Linked DNA regions of Homo sapiens: all the other regions are linked to region 2. The links are contacts of gene promoters, found by promoter capture Hi-C in human tissues and cell types (Jung and others, 2019). All regions are on one chromosome and are shown on one strand. Each heading gives the region's core, a stretch centred on a gene start or on the middle of the fragment in contact. The rest is flanking DNA. Distances are from core to core; before and after follow the strand shown. Region 1 overlaps NOP14 (NOP14 nucleolar protein). Region 2 holds the start of MXD4 (MAX dimerization protein 4). Region 3 overlaps ADD1 (adducin 1).

Evidence for each region. Contacts are between HindIII fragments. The study calls those that stand out against the background at their distance.
Region 1: a fragment that was not itself captured here is called in contact with the fragment with the promoter of MXD4 in region 2 in 1 of the 25 tissues and cell types used here (spleen).
Region 3: a contact is called between a fragment that was not itself captured here and the fragment with the promoter of MXD4 in region 2, in 1 of the 25 tissues and cell types used here (dorsolateral prefrontal cortex).

What each region holds. Positions count from the first base shown.
Region 1 is chr4:2,953,461-2,956,160 of GRCh38, forward strand. NOP14 (NOP14 nucleolar protein) reads right to left here. Exons shown (of 18, transcript NM_001291978.2): 4 at 964-1,103; 5 at 51-185. Among named protein-coding and RNA genes, the nearest start is that of NOP14, 8.6 kb to the right of the region's middle. The HindIII fragment of the contact is 8,016 bases long and covers 1-2,700 here.
Region 2 is chr4:2,260,743-2,263,442 of GRCh38, forward strand. It overlaps MXD4 (MAX dimerization protein 4), which reads right to left and starts at 1,367. Exons shown (of 6, transcript NM_006454.3): 1 at 1,175-1,367; 2 at 983-1,082. The coding sequence starts at 1,238. RefSeq lists enhancers at 1-486, 1,718-2,379, 2,380-2,700 and silencers at 587-646, 657-1,046, 1,137-1,196, 1,247-2,086. The HindIII fragment of the contact is 28,165 bases long and covers 1-2,700 here.
Region 3 is chr4:2,874,033-2,876,732 of GRCh38, forward strand. ADD1 (adducin 1) reads left to right here. Exons shown (of 16, transcript NM_001354761.2): 2 at 1,864-2,078. The coding sequence starts at 1,884. Among named protein-coding and RNA genes, the nearest start is that of ADD1, 32 kb to the left of the region's middle. RefSeq lists enhancers at 584-1,111, 1,112-1,637. The HindIII fragment of the contact is 5,115 bases long and covers 1-2,700 here.

The sequences.
Region 1 (2,700 bases), core at 43-2,542, 690 kb after region 2:
GTCACCCAAGCTCAGTGAGTGAAGAGTTTGTTTCAGTACTTGGCTCCCACCTTGGGTTTTTCCTTTTTGTCTCTGTTCTCTGACTTGGGAGTTTTGTGGGACAGGAGAGTCTGAATTTCTTTCCAGTCTTGGTCTAGCTTCTCCGTGAGCTCGAGGGCATCTTCTCGTTGAGCTTGTCTCTCCCTCTGGGGAAAAAATAACAGACACACACCACATACCGTTACTACTGGACTTCAACCCAGAGGCCCAATGTCAGTGCCAAGGACACACACAGTGATCACTCAGTTGGCACCAAACGTTTCAACACAGAAAAGAGGCCAGGAGAAATGAGTATTTTAAATGCAAAGCTACCAAATCTCATCAGACGGAAATCTTTTCCTGCCATAAACCATTAATTTAGATGCTCTGAGCAGTTCACTGCAAATGAATAAAAAAGTGATTTTTTGGGCACATGTCAGATACTAAAACCAGCAACAACAAAAAACCCATCCGCGCCAGGTGCAGTGGCCCACCCTGTGCTTTAGAACTAGGCCAAGGTGGGAGAACTGCTTGAGCCTGGTCGACACAGCACGATCCCCATCTCTACAAAAAGTAATTAGCTGAGCATGGTGGCGCCCACTAGCTACTTGGGGAGCTGAGGTGGGAGGATCACTGGATCCTTGAGCCCAGGAGTTTGAGGCCACAGTGAGCTTTGATCGTGCCACTGTACTCCAGCCCGGGAAACAGAGACTACGTCTCAAAATAAAACAAAACATAAACCAAAAAAAGGCAAAAGAACCAAAACCTGTCCGAGGTATATGCTTTATGTGATTTTTAAAATTCCTACTCACAATAAATGCTTTTACTGAACTCATATAAAATATTAAACACAGCCTAAAAAGGTACAGGAAAAAAAAGCTCAAACACATTTTGGTGAGCCTGTCTTACCGTGGAGAAGATGATCAAGAACACTCACTAACCCACCTTCTCTTGTTTTGACTTGGCAATGAGCTCTTCAATCAGCTCTTTCCGGGACTTCGGTTTCTCCCGCTCCTCGCCTTCCTGTTGAGTCTTCTTGTGAAGGAGCCCACCGCCTCCTCCAAAGTGGGCAGCAGTCAGCTCAGCTGGGGGCAAAAGGCAGAAAACCCCACAGTGAAGCCCAGCCCTGGCGTGGGAAGTGTTTCCTGTAGCACTCTGCCAGTGCTTCCCCCATAGTGGTCTGGAAAAGTCCACATTTGAGAAAAAAATGCTCACACGCAACAGCCTGGCCTGAGACCACAGGCACAATGGCACTTGAGAAATACCCAAGGTAAGCCACTCTGAGAAAACCCAGACCCATTACACTCCCAACTGGCCGTAACCCAAGTGGCTGGAAACACCCAGCACCTATTTTTGATTGTGCTGGTTCTAGCGAAGACTGGCAAACCCAGAGCAAGCTGACTCCAGGGTCTTGGTGGGAGCGTCGCCCAGGATCAGTGGTGCAATCTGTGTCCCTCCCACCTCCCTGGGCAGGGCCTGGAGACTCTAGTCACCTGTACCACGGCGCCCCCTCTAGTCACCTGCACGCCACGGCGCCCCCTCTAGTCACCTCCACGCCACGGCGCCCCCTCTAGTCACCTGCACGCCACGGCGCTCCCTCTAGTCACCTGCGCCACGGCGCCCCCTCTAGTCACCTGCGCCACAGCGCCCCCTCTAGTCACCTGCACCCCACGGCGCCCCCTCTAGTCACCTGCACGCCACGGCGCCCCCTCTAGTCACCTGGACCACGGCGCCCCCTCTAGTCACCTGCACGCCACAGCGCCCCCTCTAGTCACCTGCACCACGGCGCCCTCTAGTCACCTGCACCACAGCGCCCCCTCTAGTCACCTGCACGCCACGGCGCCCCCTCTAGTCACCTGCACGCCACGGCGCCCCCTCTAGTCACCTGGACCACGGCGCCCCCTCTAGTCACCTGCACGCCACGGCGCCCCCTCTAGTCACCTGCACCACGGCGCCCTCTAGTCACCTGCACCACAGCGCCCCCTCTAGTCACCTGCACGCCACGGCGCCCCCTCTAGTCACCTGCACCACAGCGCCCCCTCTAGTCACCTGCACGCCACGGCGCCCCCTCTAGTCACCTGCACGCCACGGCGCCCCCTCTAGTCACCTGCGCCACAGCGCCTCCTGGCAATGAGGGGAAGGCCACTCGCCCAACTCACACCAAGGCAGTTACCTCCAGTCTCGGGGAATTAGGATCTCCCCAGGGAATGCGTTTTATAGCTAAGGGTCCACGAGAAGTCTTGAACAATGAAAAGAGCAAAGACAAAGGCACAGAGGGGTTAAAATAACTGGCCATTCTCTTCACGCCCGTGAAGCCGAGCAGTGGCGGGGCCTCCTGGTGTGCCGCAGATGGCGGGTTCTGCACCACATGCTTGCTGCCCTAATTCCTAAGCCTTTTACCCCCTGGATTAGCCAAATATCAGAAGGCAGCCCCAGGCTTTAACGCCTTAACTTTCACACACTGACAAGACAAAGCTTTGAGAGTCAGTTTTAGATTTGTACACCTTTGTTCTGAAGATGCTGGAAATGGGACCTACTTTAACTTACAAGAAATGTCAAGTAATTGATGTCATGACTGCAACCTTATAAATAGGGTTCAAGACAGTCAGACCCGAACTGAATCTTAAACTCTGTTAACATTATTTAAGGCCAAAATTTATCTGTTTCATGTTGTTATCTACA
Region 2 (2,700 bases), core at 117-2,616:
ATTCCCTAGAACAGGTGGACCACAGGAATGAGCCATGCCCTGGGGCTCTGAAGCCCCCTACAAACGCAGCTCCCAGCCTGCTCACACAAAAGGGCTGGGCCAAGGTGGGCCCAGACAGGACCAGGTGTGCTATGGTCCTCACAGCAGCCAGGAGGGTGGAAATCCCCGGGGAGCCCCGGCCCAGGGTCCCCACTCCCCACGCGGGGGACCTGTACGCACCCCAGCTTCAGGGCTTCTGCTGCCTGAACACGAGGTCAAGGTATGGAGGGCGCAGCTGGCACCCGTAGTAACGACTTCATGGGGCCCCTGCCCTGCAGCCTGCCCCCTCCTCCCGCCCCCTTAAAAGGCCTCTGTCTTAAAAAAGAGGACCCCCATACTGGTGGCTGGAGTTTCGCTGTGTCAGGAGGCTGGGCAGAAGCGGTGGGCACCCTGGGAGGAGTGAGGGCCCAGGACAGCGCCTCCACTCGCTTCTCTGTCTAGGCTCCTGGGGGCGGGGGAAGGTGGCCGAGCAGCAGAGTTCGGCTGGCAGAGCCAGTCGAAAGGAGGCCGCCCACCCACCCGCGGAGAGAAGGGGTTAGGGCCGGCAGCCCCCGCAGACCCTGGCTGAGCCTGTTTCCCCAGACCCACGGGGCACCGGCCAGCGCCCGCTGACAACTTTTCTACCGCCTGGAAAAGTCCAGAACAACTCGGGGGCGGGGAGCGGGCGCGGGAGCGGACCCCGGCGGCGGGCGCTGTACGCGTGGCACTGTTTACGCGAGCGGCCCGGGAGGCGCGGCCGCGGGAAGATGGCGACGGCGAGGGCGGGGCCGGCCGGGCGGGGCTGCGGCCGCGGCCTGCGCGCCTCCTCCTCCAGGCTGGCCGCCGGGGCGCGCGGCGGCGGCGCTGAGGGCCGCGGGCCGGGAATCGGGGCCCGGAGAGCACGCTCCGGGCGGGGGCGGGGGTTCGGACCGGGCCGGGCGGGGTCGGGAGCGGGGGGCGGTACCTGTTGTTCGGGGCCTTGCGCACCAGGCCGGCCGCCTTTGTTTTCTCCCTGGCGAAGTCGCCGTCGAAGGGCAGCACCGAGGCGTAGCCGTGCTCGGCCTCTGCGGACACACGGCGCGGTCAGCGGCCCCCGCCCGGCACGGCCCCGCCGCCCGCCCACCGCCGCGGGCGCACAATGGGGTGCGAGCGCTACCTCGATCCCTGCGCTCCAGGTACTCGGCCGCCTCCAGCAGGATCAGCAGGGAGTTCAGCTCCATCCTCCCGCCCGCGCCCGTCCGCCCCGGGACGGCGGCGGCCGCTGCCCGGCCCGCTCCGGCCGGCTCCGCTCGCCGCCCACCCCGCGCGCCCGGCCGCCGCACTTCCAGACTCCGCGGACTCCGGCGCTCGGCCGCCACCCTCCGCCTCAGGCCCTCAAATTGACACATAAGGGAGAGCGGCGGCCCGCAGAGCCAATGGGAGGCGGCGTTCGCGCCCCGGGGGCGGGCGCCGGGCCGGGCTGGGGCCAATGGGGACGGGTCGAGCGCCTCGGGCCGGGCCGAGAATGTTGACAGATGCAGAGCTGGGCTGGGATAGGCCGGCCGCGCTAGTAACAATTTAGAAGCCCGAGCTTAGCAACAGCACGTGGTGGCCCGGCCCCCGCGCTAGCTGACTGGCGGCCGCCGTGCATGTTAAGTAGGCGCCGCGCGCCGATTGGCCAGAGCGGCCTATGTAAAACAGGCACTGCGAGCCAATGGCCGGTGGCGGGGCGCGCGGCCAATGAGGGCGCCGCAGCCGGACGCGTTGCCGAGAGGAAGCGCAGCGCGCGGGGACCGCCCGCCGTCCTGGGGGCCCGTTAGGACGCAGGAGCGTCTCCGCTACGAGAGCGAAGCAGGGCGCTCCGGGGCGTGCGCCGGGCCGGGCCGGGCCGCCGGGTCTGAGCGCGACGAAAGCAGTGGCTGCGTGGGGGGACGAGGCCTCGCGCTCTGCCCGGGGGTCTTGCGTGGGGCCGTGAACGACTCCCCTCCCCGCCGGGCGCAGAGTGGCCCCGGGAAGGGCCGGGACCTCGGAGAGGGACGCAGACGCTCTGATCCTAAGAGCCAGGCGTCTCTGAGGGTGTCAGTGGGGAAACAGGCCCAGAGCGGGCGGGCTCCTCAGATCGCCCAGTGGACGCCGGAGCTGAGGGAGGGCCCAGGTCTGGGGAAGGGACACAGACGTGCGGCCAGAGTCGAGAGGCTCCCCGGAGTGGGGGGCTGCATGCTCTGTGTCTGGCCTGAGGGGCAGGGACGTTCCTAGAGGCAGGCGCTGGCCACCTCTGGCCGAGGACGCCCTAAGTGGGGACGGGAGTGAACCCTTCATCAAATCCCAGCTGGCGGGTCTCCCTAGTGACCCCTGACCCTAAGGCTGGCCCAGACTGGCCTCGGCACCCCCCACCCTCTCGCAGATTTTTTTTTTTTTTTTTTTTGAGACGGCTCTGTTGCCCAGGCTGGAATGCAGTGGCGTGATGTCAGTTCACTGCAACCTCCGCCTCCCGGGTTCAAGCGATTCCCCTGCCTCAGCCTCCCAAGTAGCTGGGACTACAGGCGCGTGCCACCACGCCCAGCTAATTTTTGTATTTTTAGTAGAGATGGGGTTTCACCATGGATGGTCTGGATCTCCTGACCTCGTGATCCGCCCGCCTCGGCCTCCCAAAGTTCTGGGATTACAGGTGTGAGCCACCTCGCCCGACCCATCTCACTGATT
Region 3 (2,700 bases), core at 60-2,559, 610 kb after region 2:
GACCTCATCTCTACCAAAGAACTAAAAAAAAAATAGCCAGGTGTGGTGATGTGGGCCTGTAGTCTCAGCTATGCAGGAGGCTGAGGCAGTGGGATGGCTTGAGAGCCCACAAGTTCCAGGCTGTAGTGAGCTATGATTGCACCACTGCATTCCAGCCTGGGTGGCAGAATAAGGCTCTGTCTCAAAAACAAAGAGAAAAAAGATTCCACTGAGGTCATTAGTTCGTTTATTCTATGTTGATGTTTAGTCCCCCAATTGTTTTCATGTTTTGCCTTTAAGTTCTCGAAGTAGTGGCTGGGGGCGGTGGCTAACGCCTATAATCCCAGCACTTTGAGAGGCCTAGGCGGGCGGATCACCTGAGGTCAGGAGTTCGAGACCAGCCTGGCCAACATGGTGAAACGCCGTCTCTACTAAAAATACAAAAATTACCCGGGTGTGGTGGCACGTGCCTGTAATCAAAGCTACTCGGGAGGCTGAGGCAGGAGAATCACTTGAACCTGGGAGGCGGAGGTTTCAGTGAGCCGAGATCATGCCACTGCACTCCAGAATGAGCGACAGAGTGAGACTGTCTCAAAAAAAAAAAAAAAGAAAGAAATACTGCCACTTTAAGCATATTTTTATCTTATCTTTACATTTAGAACAGAAATATCAAATTGATCTTTTTCTTAAAAAAAAACACTAATTTCTTCAACTGATTCTTTGGTTATTGGTTCCACAATAAAAATATCTTTTTTGCATAATAAACTCTACTTTATAGGCTTGTTATCCAAAGTGCGGTTCAAGTTCAGCAGCATTGGTATCACTTGGGAATTGATGAGACATGCAGAATTTCAGGCCCCACTCCAGACCTAATGAATCTTAATTTGTGTATTAATTCAATTCCCAGGTGGTTCATATGCACATTTGAAAGCTAACAGGGCGTGGTGGCTCATGCCTGTGATCCCAGCACTTTGGAAGGCCAAGGTGAGAGGATTGCTTGAGGCCAGGAGTTTGAGACCAGCCTCTGCAACTCAGGGATACCCCCATCTCTACAAAATTTTTAAAAAATTCGCCGGGCATGGCGGTGCACGCTGATAGTCCCAGCTGCTTGGGAGGCTTAGGTGGAAGGATCACTTGAGCCTGGGAGGTTGAGGTTGCAGTGAGCTGTGACTGGGCCACTGCCCTCCAGCCTCGGTGGCAGAACAAGACCCTGTTCCCCTCCCCCCGAGAAAAGAATGTAATGTCAGTAGCCATATTCACAGAATTTTAAATTTGAGCCATCTTGGCATGTTAGGTTATTAACAAACTGAGCATCTTGACCTCAAATTGCTGGTACCTGCCATTGTTCTTTTAACCAGAAAGGAGCTGTTAGGGAGGAACATTTACCATTTTGTGAGTTATGTGTGAGTGGCTTCTCTTCTGTTGATCTGTTTGTGGGATCCTTTGCAAAACCACTGCTGGTACCTTATGGGAAAAAAAATCAGAAATCAAATTTCTTTTGGAATAAACTGTGCTGTTCTTAGCAGATCTTGTCTGTGTGGAACAAATCATGTCTGTAAAGAATCACGTGGTCAAAAGTTTAATATTTAGTTCTTTTTGGATTTGTCAGAGGACTTAATTGCTTTGTTAGATTGTTGTCTTGTTCTCCTCTTTGGAACAATGGCTAGGACAAAACACAGCATTGGTTAGTGGGAGGGTGGGAGGTGGTTGATCAGCCATGTGCCTCTGAGGCCACAAAGAAGCCTCACAGGTCATGGTTTCCACTGTCAGTTGGTCATTACATCCTCCTGTTGAAGATTGTGTTTACCAAGCTCATGTGCTCATCATGAAACACTGTTAGACATTGATTTGAAAACAATAATTTCTTTTATTTTGATTCTGTAGGAACCTAGAAAGATTGTACAATGAATGGTGATTCTCGTGCTGCGGTGGTGACCTCACCACCCCCGACCACAGCCCCTCACAAGGAGAGGTACTTCGACCGAGTAGATGAGAACAACCCAGAGTACTTGAGGGAGAGGAACATGGCACCAGACCTTCGCCAGGACTTCAACATGATGGAGCAAAAGAAGAGGGTGTCCATGATTCTGCAAAGCCCTGTGAGAAGAGAAGTCTTTTCTCTGACCAGATGTCATCTTTCCTTTTCTAATACTTCAGGTCTTATGCCCTGTTGTATGAGTGGCATAGTTCATTGATCTTATCACAGGAAATCAGTGCCTTGAGTATACGTATATGGTTGTTGAAAGAATTCAGTTCAGTTCATGTTATCAGACATCATAAATGAAAAATCTTCAGTGTCGTAAAGGATAGGAAGTGTTAATTTCTCCTTTTTACTCTTGTGACTTTTCTAGAGGGTCCTTATATATTGGGGCAATTTTTAAATTACAATTAAAAAAATACCTAGCTTAGGCTGGGTGCGTCGGCTCAAGCTTGTAATCCCAGCACTTTGGGAGGCCGAGGTGGGTGGATCACTTGAGGTCAGAAGTTCGAGACCAGGCTGGCCATCACGGTGAAACCCTGTCTCCATTAAAAATACAAAAATTGGCCAGGCGCGGTGGCTCACGCCTGTAATCCCAGCACTTTGGGAGGCCAACATGGGTGGATCACGAGGTCAGGAGATCGAGACCATCCTGGCTAACACGGTGAAAACCCATCTCTACTAAAAATACAAAAAAAAATTAGCCAGGCGTAGTGGCGGGCGCCTGTAGTCCCAGCAACTCG